4 separate regions of the Homo sapiens genome follow, and all the other regions are linked to region 3. Evidence: promoter capture Hi-C in 16 types of primary human blood cells and fetal thymus (Javierre and others, 2016). All regions are on one chromosome and are shown on one strand. Each heading gives the region's core, a stretch centred on a gene start or on the middle of the fragment in contact. The rest is flanking DNA. Distances are from core to core; before and after follow the strand shown. Region 1 overlaps SBNO1 (strawberry notch homolog 1). Region 2 overlaps SBNO1 (strawberry notch homolog 1). Region 3 holds the start of EIF2B1 (eukaryotic translation initiation factor 2B subunit alpha). Region 4 overlaps SBNO1 (strawberry notch homolog 1).

Evidence for each region. The method cuts DNA at HindIII sites, captures the fragments that hold promoters and counts their contacts. A CHiCAGO score of 5 or more calls a contact.
Region 1: a contact is called between a fragment that was not itself captured here and the fragment with the promoter of EIF2B1 in region 3, in 2 of 17 cell types (naive CD4 T cells and M1 macrophages). The highest score is 5.8, in naive CD4 T cells.
Region 2: a fragment that was not itself captured here is called in contact with the fragment with the promoter of EIF2B1 in region 3 in 3 of 17 cell types (M2 macrophages, M1 macrophages and erythroblasts); the score reaches 7.5 in M2 macrophages.
Region 4: a contact is called between a fragment that was not itself captured here and the fragment with the promoter of EIF2B1 in region 3, in 1 of 17 cell types (non-activated CD4 T cells). The highest score is 5.1, in non-activated CD4 T cells.

The regions. Positions count from the first base shown.
Region 1 is chr12:123,290,088-123,293,227 of GRCh38, reverse strand. SBNO1 (strawberry notch homolog 1) reads left to right here. Exons shown (of 32, transcript NM_001167856.3): 32 at 1-3,140. Among named protein-coding and RNA genes, the nearest start is that of CDK2AP1, 20 kb to the right of the region's middle. The HindIII fragment of the contact is 3,566 bases long and covers 1-3,140 here.
Region 2 is chr12:123,320,867-123,324,181 of GRCh38, reverse strand. SBNO1 (strawberry notch homolog 1) reads left to right here. Exons shown (of 32, transcript NM_001167856.3): 16 at 351-502; 17 at 2,450-2,647. Among named protein-coding and RNA genes, the nearest start is that of MIR8072, 42 kb to the left of the region's middle. The HindIII fragment of the contact is 5,710 bases long and covers 1-3,315 here.
Region 3 is chr12:123,631,824-123,635,002 of GRCh38, reverse strand. EIF2B1 (eukaryotic translation initiation factor 2B subunit alpha) reads left to right here and starts at 1,317. Exons shown (of 9, transcript NM_001414.4): 1 at 1,317-1,458; 2 at 2,557-2,658. The coding sequence starts at 1,446. GTF2H3 (general transcription factor IIH subunit 3) reads right to left here and starts at 1,174. Exons shown (of 13, transcript NM_001516.5): 1 at 1,131-1,174. The coding sequence starts at 1,143. RefSeq lists an enhancer at 1,101-1,290. The HindIII fragment of the contact is 11,619 bases long and covers 1-3,179 here.
Region 4 is chr12:123,339,420-123,342,673 of GRCh38, reverse strand. SBNO1 (strawberry notch homolog 1) reads left to right here. Exons shown (of 32, transcript NM_001167856.3): 5 at 1,586-1,686. Among named protein-coding and RNA genes, the nearest start is that of MIR8072, 24 kb to the left of the region's middle. RefSeq lists a silencer at 1,283-1,506. The HindIII fragment of the contact is 2,069 bases long and covers 735-2,803 here.

The DNA of each region.
Region 1 (3,140 bases), core at 359-2,858, 340 kb after region 3:
TTGCCGCTGACTTCTGTAAAATAGGTCCATTCATTGCAGGATCTAAATGCCACACCTGAATTCAGAGGCCTTGTTTAATTAACCCCATGTCCACTTTGCCTCTGCAATGCCTTTTTCTTTTTAGCAATATGGCTCTGAGCACAAAGATTTGGTTGGAAATCATGTTCGTGTTTTCAGAGTTTACAGCGTCAATTGTACTGAAAACCACTTCCAGAGTCTAAAGCAGCTCAGATGTTATCTCTGGGGGAATTAGTGTTCCCCTCATTTAGCAACCTCCATACCACAAGGTCTCTGTCTGTAGTTACTGGGATTATCCAGATACACTATCAATGATACAAATTCATAGGAGTATTAATGCATTTCTTTAAACACAACTTGATTAAGAAGCAAATATGTTAAGCAGTTTTCTTTTTCTGCTGCTAAATTACAGTTAGACACTTCAGTATCTTCTCTTTACATGTGTATATAAATTAGTAAGAACCTGCATCCAAAGCAATGTAGTGTGTGTATGTATCTATATATATTTATTCTAACTCAGCACTTCAGAAGCCTTTTTGAGTTACAACAATATTTTAGTTTGCCTCATCTGTAGAGGTAAAATTTCTATATTACCAAGCTCCAGAGGAATATGATATTTTACAGGCACAATTTTCTGGCTGTAGTCCCTGGGGCATTCATTTGCTGGCCTCCATGGGATGCTGTTAGAACAATTGTTAGCCGGCAAGAGAAGAAAGGCTACCAGGACAGCATTTATAATTGTAGAATGGGAGCCTTCTTCCCTCTCCCCTCCACTTTCATTTTAGCATGAGATAAAAAAATAGATTGGAAATGATTGTTGCATCTCACTTCATGGAAGTAGGGGCAGAAGTTCCCTCTGGATCCTTTTCTTGACAAGCAGTCAAGAGGAAGGTCCCCATACACATGTACCTGTGTGATACTTGGTAGTTTCTAAGAATGGTGCTACATAAGCGTTGCTGTTAGGCTGGGATCCTATTAATGAACGTTTGATTAGTTCAGGCCTCCCAATGGCAAAGGCAGACACCGTGGAGATGGACATTTACTGACTCCCCTTCTGTGTGGCTTCGGTCTCCCTGGCTAACACCACACCTGTGCGTACTGCGCTCGGCCCACTTTGCTGCAGAAACGTAGCAAGCGTTTCATGTCAGGGCTACAGCTGAGAGCAAAAACTGCAAAAAAAAAAAAAAATGTCTCATTGAATGCCAGTTGTCTGATACAAATGCAGTGTCTTTTAAGTGACAGAAACACACCTAAATACCTGCAACTCAAGCTCGCTAGCATTTTTTTTTTGAGTACTTGAGATAAAATCCAAAACCCACCCTCTAATTTTGTGCTGTATTTATATATATGTACATAAATGTATATATAGAGAAATGTTGAGTTCTTCTGGATTCTGAATGTAAATAATTCTTGTAAATTGGGACTCTGCCCACCTGTTTCTCCCTTTTCCCTCTTCCCTTCAGCTCTATTTATTCTTTTCTTGACTTTCCCATATGGGGCATCTTATGACTTTTTTTTTTTTTTTTTTTTAAGAAAAGTATGGAAAACTTTTCATTTAGAAAAGTATTTGTTCCTGTATTTTAGAATTCAGTTTTGCATCTTTGCTGTAGAATTCCTGTTTTGTGTTAATGTTTTTTACTATGTCTTATTGTGTTGTGTGCAATGCATTGTACTGGGGGGATGCACTTGAGTGCCATTTCTGATACTGTCATTGTATGACTGCTGATGCTCGTTTATGTTGTTCTTTGGAAGCTATAGTGAGCCTGATGTTTTCACATTTTAAAAAATGCTTCCTGAGACTTCTTTAAGCTCCTCTAACTTCTTCAGTGCATTTGGGATCAAACTTAGCTCTTAGATCAGCAAACCTGACTTGCTTCTACTTTTGCAATTTTTCAGGCCTTACCATATTTCTTATCTCTGTCTTCCCACCTGATAGGAAAATCTTGCAGATTTGAAACAGTGGTTTCTGGCCTGCTGCTGCAGCAAATTCCCTATGTTTATTTAAGAAGTCGGGCCTATGCTTTTAACCTACAAATGATGAGTAATTTACTTGCAATGAACACAGGTAGCCTGCTGCTGTTTATAACCTGTTGAGGATATTTATAGCAGGCAGGAGGCAGGCCTAGTGTGTTATTGACAGGTGACTTTAGAGAATGTACATTGGCCGGGTGCGGTGGCTCACGCCTGTAATCCCAGCACTTTGGGAGGCCGAGGCGGGCGGATCATGAGGTCAGGAGATTGAGACCATCTCCTGGCTAACACGGTGAAACCCCGTCTCTACTAAAAATACAAAAAAAAAAAAAACTTAGCCAGGCGTGGTGGCGGGTGCCTGTAGTCCCAGCTACTCAGGAGGCTGAGGCAGGAGAATGGCATGAACCTGGGAGGCAGAGCTTGCAGTGAGCCCAGATCGCGCCACTGCACTCCAGCCTGGGCAACAGACCGAGACTCCGTCTCGAAAAAAAAAAAAGAGAGAGAATGTACATTAAGGAACAATTGTCCTCCAAAAGAGAGCCAAGCAACTGCTCTGGAGCCTCCTAGGCTGACTCTGCTGGAGGGTGAGACAAGCAGATTCCCATTGCAGCACTGGTCCCTGGGGTACCCTGAACGGCTGTGCTCTCCACCCTTGTATCGGTGAGTGGATCTTGTCTACATCAGCCGTAAGCCTAGAAGCAGAGCGGGATCGAGGCGTTTTTAATAATTCGAGTTGGGAAGACCCGGATGGTTCATCAAAATGATGGTGTTGAGCACCCGGGAGGCAGACATTGGGTATTTGTTCACAATTTTGCACCTGTAAGAAAATGTTCCTTTATAACTTTCAAGGATTGCCGTGAGCGTCTTTGGGGCCTTTTCATTCATGTACAAGTTTCATTCATTACTATTCAACTTGGTAGACTTGGTGAAAAATGTAAAAGCATTCTGTATTTGGATCAGTCTTGGGAACTAAATTTGTCGTGAATTGGGGCCTGTCACAGATTGCCTCCAGTGTGCATCCTCCACGCAGACCCTCCTTGCTCAGTCTCCCTCTGGCGCCCATGGGGAAGCCGTGCTGTGGTTGGCAGTGCGGCCATCTGGGCTGCCGCAACGTGGCAGGGCACCGTCCAGCAAGACTGCCCCTTAGTGCA
Region 2 (3,315 bases), core at 239-2,738, 310 kb after region 3:
GTGTACTGAGCCAGGTTTCAAAGACTCCTTAAGAGAAAATAACATAAAACATATGTGTTGACATGGTATATTGAGTTAAAATGTATTATTAAAATTAGTTCCACCAGTTTTATTTATTTTTTACTTTTTTAATTTAAGCTACCAGAAAATACAATAATTGTGTATGTGGTTTGGCTTGCATTCTTATTATTTAGTTGGACAGCTTTGGGCTAGAAAATTAAAATTTATTTGAGCTCGTTTATCAGTATTTTGTAAAACTGAACAAAGTATATTTCAATATATTTAATAATACTTTACATATAATTATTTTGTCAACTGAAGCAGTAATTGTCACTGTTTCTCTCCTACAGAGGTGTGTTGCAGTCACTCATTGAAAAACATTTTCCTGCTCCAGACAGGAAAAAACTTTATAGTTTACTAGGAATCGATTTGACAGCTCCAAGTAACAACAGTTCGCCAAGAGATAGTCCTTGTAAAGAAAATAAAATAAAGAAGCGGAAAGGTGAGCACTTTAAAAAAGAAAAAATAGGCCAGGTGCGGTGGCTCACACCTGTAATCCCAGCACTTTGGGAGGCTGAGGTGGGCAGATCACGAGGTCAGGAGATCGAGACCATCCTGGCTAACACGGTGAAACCCCATCTCTACTGAAAATACAAAAAATTAGCCGGGCATCGTGGTGGGCACCTATAGTCCCAGCTACTCGGGAGGCTGAGGCAGGAGAATGTCGTGAACCCAGGAGGCAGAGCTTGCAGTGAGCCGAGATAGCGCTGCTGCACTCCAGCCTGGATGACAGAGCGAGACTCTGTCTCAAAAAAGAAAAAGAAAAAAGAAAATAGTTGACGTTGAAAATACTGTTGAAATTAAAACATAAGCATTTTAAAGTGGCTATATTTTGGGAATGAACTGCCTTCCATGAATTCACAAATGGTTCCAAATTTTCACTGTCACTTGTACAATTTTGAATGCACAAGTTATCCCCGTTTTAAATTAGGAATTGAGCAATTCACTGGTGGTTGGCAGTGTGTTAAGCACTTGGCTATATACATTCTACCATATAACCTGGCAGAGGTCCATACGAAATTAGGTCTTATTTTTCCAATTTTATAGACAGAGATCATTGAAGCACAGAAAGATTTAAAGATTAAAGAGTTTTCCTAGTTTCACAGAGATAGTTAATGATGCATGGGAACTAAAACCTGTGTCTTTGTATTGTCAGACCTGTTCTTTAATATATAGACAGCTGGGTGTTTCAGTAGTTTTCTTTAAAAGAGCCTTTTCTTTTTTTTTCTTTTTTTTTTTTGAGACAGGGTCTCCGTCTCCGTCACCCAGGCTGGAGTGCAGTGGTACCATCTTGGCTCACTGCAACCTCTGCCTCCTGGGTTCAAGGAGCTGGGATTACAGGCATGCACCACCACGCCCTGCTAATTTTTGTATTTTTAGTAGAGATGGGGTTTCACCATGTTGGCCAGGCTGGTCTCAAACTCCTGAGCTTAAGCAATGCACCCACCTAGGCCTCCCAAAGTGCTGGGATTACAGGTGTGAGCCATCTCGCCCAGCCCTGTTTTGGTTTTAGAAGTTGACTTCTCGCCGGGCACAGTGGCTCACGCCTGTAATCCCAGCTTTTTGGGAGTTGAAACAGGCGGATCACCTGAGGTCAGGAGTTCGAGACCAGCCTGGCCAACATGGCGAAACCCCTTCTCTACTAAAAATTAAAAACTTAGCCAGGACTGGCGGCAGGGGCGCCTTATAATCCCAGCTATAAGGGAGGCTGAGGCATTAGAATCACTTGAACTCGGGAGGCAGAGGTTGCAGTGAGCCAAGATTATGCCACTGCACTTTAGCCTGGGAGACAGAGTAGACACTGTCTGGGGAAAAAAAAAAAATATCTGGTCATGGTTGCATGTGCCTGTAGTCCCAGGTACTTGGGAGGCTGAGGTGGGAGGATCACATGAGCCAGGGAAGTCGAGGCTGCAGTGAGCTATGATTGTGCCACTGCACTCCAGCCTGGGCAACAGTGAGGCCCTGTCTCCAAAAATAAAAAGGTTTTATAAATTGATTTTCTATTGATTTTCTAAGTATTCCATGTCTATAAACCTGTAATTATTAGGCCTCTTCTCAAATCTGATACACAGTCAAATTGTGACTATGCCAGAGGTTCTGCTTTTACTCTGTTGTCCTGAATATGTTTTGAAACTTGTGCACTTGAAGGCAGTCTTGACTTAGTACTTTTGTATCCAATTTCTTCTTCAGAATAAATGTTTATAACCTTATTTTTTATGGGAGTCCAAAAGGTTAGTGCTGGTTTGTGAATTCTGTTTGTTTTTTGACTTAACCTAAATACTTTTCCTCTGCACTTTTCATTTGAATTAATTCATGAACTAAATGTGATGTACTGGATCTTAAGAAACATTGAATTTGGGCTGACTCTCTTGTTTGTGGCGGAGGGTAGGTGAAGAAATAACTCGAGAAGCCAAAAAAGCACGAAAAGTAGGTGGCCTTACTGGTAGCAGTTCTGACGACAGTGGAAGTGAATCTGATGCCTCTGATAATGAAGAAAGTGACTATGAGAGCTCTAAAAACATGAGTTCTGGAGATGATGACGATTTCAACCCATTTTTAGATGAGTCTAATGAGGATGATGAAAATGGTAAGTTCAGTATATTAAATATACACGAAAGCATATAATATTTCAGTATATTTGAAAATGGGATATGAAACCTTTTCTTCTGTACAGTACAAATGATCACACAGATTATAATCTTTGCTTGGTGGAAAGCTCCAGGCTTATCTACCTTCTGGAAGTTTGAGCCTCATATATGTGAGAAGATAACCTCAATTTTGTGCAGTTATTTTTAACTTGAAAACATGGATTTGTACCCCATGGTGTATGGATGAACCAATGTAGGTGGTGATAAGTTATCAGTTAACAATATAAAAAATTTCATCCAGGCGCGGTGGCTCATGCCTGTAATCCCAGCAATTTGGGAGGCTAAGGTGGGTGGATCACCTGAGGCTGGGAGTTCGAGATCAGCCTGACCAACGTGGAAAAACCCCATCTCTACTAAAAATACAAAATTAGCCAGGTGTGGTGGCACATACCTGTAATCCCAGCTACTCAGGAGGCTGAGGCAGGAGAATCGCTTGAACCCAGGAGGTGGAGATTGCAGTAAGCTGAGATTGCGCCATTGCACTCCAGCCTGGGCTACAACAGCGAAACATTGTCTCAAAAAAATAAAATTTCAAAGGTTGTTTCCTTTGAAGATTCTGTACTTGTTTTAACAAATGATTTGACATGTATCTTTCCTTAACACTCAG
Region 3 (3,179 bases), core at 68-2,567:
AGGACTCCCCTATCTCTATTCTTGCTCCCCACAGTCCATTTTCCACACAACAGCCACAGTGATCTTTTAAAATTGCAAACCAGATCATAACACTTTCTGGCTTAAAACTCTACAATGTCTTTGTATTGCACCTAAAAATAAAGGCCAACTTCTCTATCACGGCCAATAAGGCCCTGCATGACCTGAAACTGGCTGGTTCTCTGATCTCATCCCTCTAGCCTCCTTTTAAATCTTCAAGACATCTGACTCTGTATGTGGTAGTTTAATGTATGAATGAGTCTCCCCACCATCCTCTACCCGCAAGCTCTCCATTTCTCCCTTCTCAGTGTAACTTGGTGGCTCAATCTGCCACAGGGCCCATGCACTTAAAGTGCACTTCCCCCAGAACTTCACATAATCATTCAAGTCGGTTTCAATATCCTGCACTTTTCCTAGGCCCCTATCTAAAACAGCTCCTCCTCAATCCTAGTCACAATGTACTATTGTAACTAGGACCGTACTGTTACATCATCTTCATAGCTCTTTTCATCCTTTGAAAAATAATTTATTTTTTAATTTTTTATTGACGAGGTCATGCCCTGTCGGCCATGCTGGGTGCAGTACTGCCATAATAGCTCACTGAAGCCTCGAATTCCTGGGCTCAAGTGATTCTCCCGCCTCAGCCTCCCGCGTAGCTGGGACCACAGACACGCGCTACCACGCCCGGCTAATATTTCATTTTTTTTGTAGAGATGGGGTCTGGCTGTGTTGCCCAGGCAGGTCTCGAACTCCCGGCTTCAAGCGATTCTCCCTCCTCGGCCTCCCAAAGTGCTGGGATTACAGGCCTAATCCACCGGGGTGCGACCCGGCCGAAATTATTTTTATTTATTGTCATCTGTTTCACCCAGTAGACTGTAACCTCCACTAAGGCCCCTGTCTGTCACGATCTCTGCTAAAATCCAGAAAATAATGCCTGTACACAGGAGGCGATCCAAAACTATTTACTGAATGAATGACTGAATGCCTTGGCTACTCCTCTAAAGACCAAACGGATTCTATCCAGCCCAAAAGACACATTCCATCTGGCCAGTCGTAGCCGGACCGAGACAGCCGAGCCCCGGAGTCGAAGTCCCGCCCTGCAGGGTCCTCACCGTCTGAAACCATGGCTGTCCCAGCACCTCAGCGCAGAGCAAGTGGTGGTCAGGGGAGCGTCTCAAATCCTGCGCAGCCCAACGTCCGGCGCCGCCAAGTGACGCACGAGGTGCTGTGACTCGTGCCAGCCCCCTAATCTGCGGAAGTGGAGTGCGGGGAGTGCGCCGGAAGAGGGGTACGGAAGTGCGCCGGAAGTGGGGTGCGGAGGTGTGCAGCGCGCTGTCAGACTGGCTCGCAGGCGGCGCGGCCGGCGGACCCGTTCGAGACAGCGCGGGCGGCTCGGGTCCCCTGGGGCTCCGCAGCAGGAGGACGCCATGGACGACAAGGGTAAATCAAGACAGGCCAGGGCTGCTAGGCTACAGCAGCGCCGTTCAGGGGTCCCCCCAACCTCTCACATCCAGGCTGAGCTCCCGAAGAGATTTCTTTTGAATTTCAGGCTGCTCCGCTGGTTGTGTTTCCAGAGTCACAACTAAATCCCTCGCGCTGCTCTTGTTTTCAGGGATGCGCCCTGGCAGTATCTGCAGGCATCCCTCCCACACATACGCTCCTTCCCAGTGCCAGTCTCCTTCCTGCCTTGTTGGATCTGTCATTAAAATTAGAATGAATAAGGCATATTTGATGTGCTCATCTAGTATGGTTATTAAGTGAAAAACAAGGGCAAACTAATACACTTTTCATGTAAAGAAATAAAGGGGAGTGGGTGGAACTCCATGTATAATATTTGTAACATATATGTGTATGTGAATAGACATGTATTAGCATAGACTGTCTGGAGGGGTGCAGGAGAAATTGGCAAGATGGTTGACTCTGGGATCCTCTCAGATTTTAGGACCAAAGAGGCTGAAGAGAGAATGACTTTTCATCATCATTTACTCGGGCTTAATTTTTAGGCCTTGCACACCAGTAGCTTTTTTTTTTTTTTTTTTGAGACGGAGTCTCGCTCTGTCACCCAGGCTGGAGTGCAGTGGCGCAGTCTCGGCTCACTGCAAGCTCCGCCTCCCGGGTTCACGCCATTCTCCTGCCTCAGCCTCCCAAGTAGCTGGGACTACAGGCGCCCGCCACTACGCCCGGCTAATTTTTTGTATTTTTAGTAGAGACGGGGTTTCACCGTTTTAGCCGGGATGGTCTCGATCTCCTGACCTCGTGATCCGCCCGCCTCGGACTCCCAAAGTGCTGGGATTACAGGCGTGAGCCACCGCGCCCGGCCACCAGTAGCTTTTTCAAAATAAAAAAGAGCTCTTGCAAACAGCAAAGTGGTATTTTCTCTATTCCCATCAACATTTATTGCATCCCTGAAACCAAATACCCTAAAAAGAAAGTATTTTTTAAATTGTTTGCTTCTTAAAGTCAACAGTCATTAACAAGCTCTCTTGCCTTATAGGCTGCTAAATGAATTAGGTGAATCACTTTTTTCCCTTTTTCCAGAGTTAATTGAATACTTTAAGTCTCAGATGAAAGAAGATCCTGACATGGCCTCAGCAGTGGCTGCCATCCGGACGTTGCTGGAGTTCTTGAAGAGAGATAAAGGTATATAGAGAGTCATCTGTTAACACTCTGGGACTTAGGATAGTCTTTTTTTTCTTTTCTTTTTTTTTTTTTTTAAAGAGACGGAGCCTCACTCTGTCACCCAGGCTGGAGTGCAGTGGCGAGATCTTGGCTCACTGCAACCTCCGCCTCCTGGGTTCAAGCAATTCTCCTGCCTTGGCCTCCTGAGTAGCTGGGATTATAGGTGTGCACCACCTTGTCCGGCTAATTTTTTTGTATTTTAGAGACAGGGTTTCACCATGTTACCCAGGCTGGTCTCGAACTCCTGAGCTTAGGCAATCTGCCCGCTTTGGCCTCCCAAAGTGCTAGGATTACAGGTGTGAGCCACTGTGCCCGGCCGTTTGTTTTTTTTGAGACAGAGTTTTGCTCTTGTCTCCCAGGCTGGAGTGCAATGGCACAATCTCGGCTCACTGCAACCTCTGCCTCTCAAGTTCAAGCGATTCTCCTGCCTCAGCCTTCTGAGTAGCTGGGATTACAGGCATGCACCACCACGCCTGGCAAAA
Region 4 (3,254 bases), core at 520-3,019, 290 kb after region 3:
TGCTATATTTAAAAGAGTTTGAAAACCAGTGGTATAGAAGAAAGTGTTCATTGTTTAGATCTTTACTCTGGGAGCAGGAGGAAGTAAGGAGTTCCCAAATTGATTTTTCTTCTTCTAGAAATAATTATTTTGCCTTGAAAATTAGTAAGTACCACCAGATCACATGAAATTGATTCTGTTTGGGTGATAACCCCAGGTTTTGGGTTTTTTTGTTTTTTTTCTTTTTTGAGAGTCTTGATCTGTCGCCCAGGCTGGAGTGCAGTGGCGCGATCTCGGCTCATTGCAGGCTCTGCCTCCTGTTTTCATGCCATTCTCCTGCCTCAGCCTCCCTAGTAGCTGGGACTACAGGCGCCCGCCACCACGCCCAGCTAATTTTTTTTTGTATTTTTTTAAATTTTAATTAATTAATTAATTAATTTTTTTGAGACAGAGTTTTACTCTTGTTGCCCAGGCTGGAGTTCAATGATGCAATCTCAGCTCACTGCAGCCTCCGCCTCCCGGGTTCAAGCAGTTCTCTGCCTCAGCCTCCCAAGTAGCTGGGATTATGAGCATGCGCCACCATGCCCGGCTAATTTTGTATTTTTAGTAGAGACTGGGCCTCCTCGGCCTCCCAAAGTGCTGGGATTACAGGCGTGAGCCACTGCGCCGGCCTTGTTTATTTTTAATGAGTCAAATGAAGTGTCTCAAAGTAATGCTGGCTTTTGGGTATCTTTCTGATAAATAATTTTCAAGCTTCCCTTGCACACGTTCCTTTTGAGTTGTTTTCTAAAGTTAATTCTTTACTTCCATAAAGACACATGGGTTTACATGTTTTCATGCCTGTGCTTAATTTAAATTAGTAATAGAGGCCAGGTGCGGTGGCTCACGCCTGTAATCCCAGCACTTTGGGATGCCAAAGTGGGCAGATCACCTGAGGTTGGGAGTTCAAGACCAGCCTGACCAACATGGAGAAACTCCGTTTTTACTTAAAAAAAAAATTACAAAATTAGGCAGGCATGGTGGCGCATTCCTGTAATCCCAGCTACTTGGGGGTCTGAGGCAGGAGAATCGCTTGAACTCGGGAGGAGGAGGTTGCAGTCAGCTGAGATTGCGCCAACGCACTCCATCCTGGGCAACAAGAGTGAAACTCCAAAAATAAATAAATAAAAATAAATTAGTTATAGGCAGATTGACATTCTTTGGTTTTTGAAATATGTAAACTTCTGGGTTTTTTATTTTTATTTTTTTAGACAAAGTCTTGTTCTGTCACCCAGGCTGAAGTGCAGTGGTGCAATCTCGGCTCATTTCAACCTCCACCTCCCAGGTTCAAGCAATTCTCTGCCTCAGTCTCCCGAGTAGCTGGGATTACAGGTGCCCGCCACCACGCCCAGCTTGTTTCTGTATTTTTAGTAGAGATGCGGTTTCACAATCTTGGCCAGGCTGGTCTTGAACTCCTGACCTTGTAATTCACCCGCCTTGGTGTCCCAAAAATGCTGGGATTACAGGTGTGAGCCACCGCAGCAGCCTTAAACTTCTGGATTTTTAAATAATGGGAAAATAAGTTCAGAATTTTCTTCTAAATGTAATTTGACTTTTTCCTCCTCAGCTGATGTAAGCAATGGTACAGTAAAGAAAGAGTCTTCTAATAAAGAAGGAGCTAGAATGTGGATAAACGACATGAAGATGAGGAGTTTTTCCCCAACCATGGTGAGTTTCAAATAACTGTGTCTTTATTTTTGTGTAGTATGAGAGTGTACTCAACTAAAAGTGTTCTATATGGAACAACCCTCAGAAAGCTGTTTTTGGGTTGGGAAGAAGCTATACAGGCGTGGGAACTAATGGATATGCTTAAACCTCGCTGGAGTAATATAGATACTAACCAGGGTGGTTAAAACTTGCAGATTGATGGAGTGTGGCACTAACATGCAGTACTGATATCTTACTGTTAAAAATCTCATCTGAGCAGAAAAAAAGACAATGTGGGGTTAACGAAAAGTATTTGATAACTGTGTTCATTTTAGGACCGAACTTGAATAGAAAGCTCATAATGCATTGACAGATCATATAATGATCTGGTTATGAGTGATTCTTTTTTTTTTTTTTTTTTTTTTTTGAGACAGAGTCTTACTCTTATCGCCCAGGCTGGAGTGCAGTGGTGCTATCTTGGCTCACTGTAACCTCCACCTCCCAGGTTCAAGTGATTCTCCCACCTCAGCCTCTCAAGTAGCTGGGATTACAGGCATGTGCCACCATGCTTGGCTAATTTTTGTATTTTTAGTAGAAATGGGGTTTCACCATGTTGGCCAGGATGGTCTCGAACTCCTGACCTCAGGTAATCTGCCCGCCTCAGCCTCCGAAAGTGCTGAGATTACAGGCGTGAGCCACTGCACCCGGCCTGGTTAGAATTCTTAACATTTTGAAAATGCTGTATGCTTTGGATCAATTGATTCCATACATTTATTTAATAAATTCTCCATGTATAACATTGTTAATATGTAGTAGGTTTCTACAAGAAGTATATTTATTACATGATTCTACCTTCAGTAAGCAAAATTTGACAACCATCTGGATTAAGTAGTAATAATGAAAAGTACATCAAATGGTATGCAATGTGCTACTCACAATAAAGGTTAGGAATTTGGAGGAAGAGGTGACCTTCCTGAACTCTAGTGGCCTGGTGGACTTTATGGAGAGGGAATAATGGAGCTTGGGTTTTGAGTATGACGAGACTTTGAGGTGGGATATTAGGAAGGGAGCTAAAGGATTAATGGGCACAGAGGGGAGGTAGTGAGTATGTGCTTCGGTGAAAATAAGCCAGGAAGCTTAGCTTGTAGAAAGAAGTGGGAATAGTAGGTCTGGGCTCCATGGAGGGTCCTGAATTGAGGTTTTTATTGTTGTTGTTGTTTTTGAGATGGAGTCTTGCTCTGTTGACCAGGCTGGAGTGTAGTGGTGCAATCTTGGCTCACTGCAATCTCCGCCTCCCAGGTTCGAGCGATTCTTCTGCCTCAGCTTCCTGAGTAGGTGGGATTACAGGTGCCCACCACCAGCCCTGGCTAATTTTTGTGTTTTTAGTAGAGACGGGGTTTTACCACATTGGCCAGGCTGGTCTCGAATACCTGACCTCAAGTGATCCCTCCAGCTCGGCCTCCCAAAGTGCTGGGAGGCCAAGGTGCCCTGTGCTGAATTGAGTTTGAAGGACTTTGGACTTAGTCTAGCACCATTGAGCCAGTAGACATGGAGGGACCTGTTAGTGATTCAGGAGAAGTTGGGGTGCA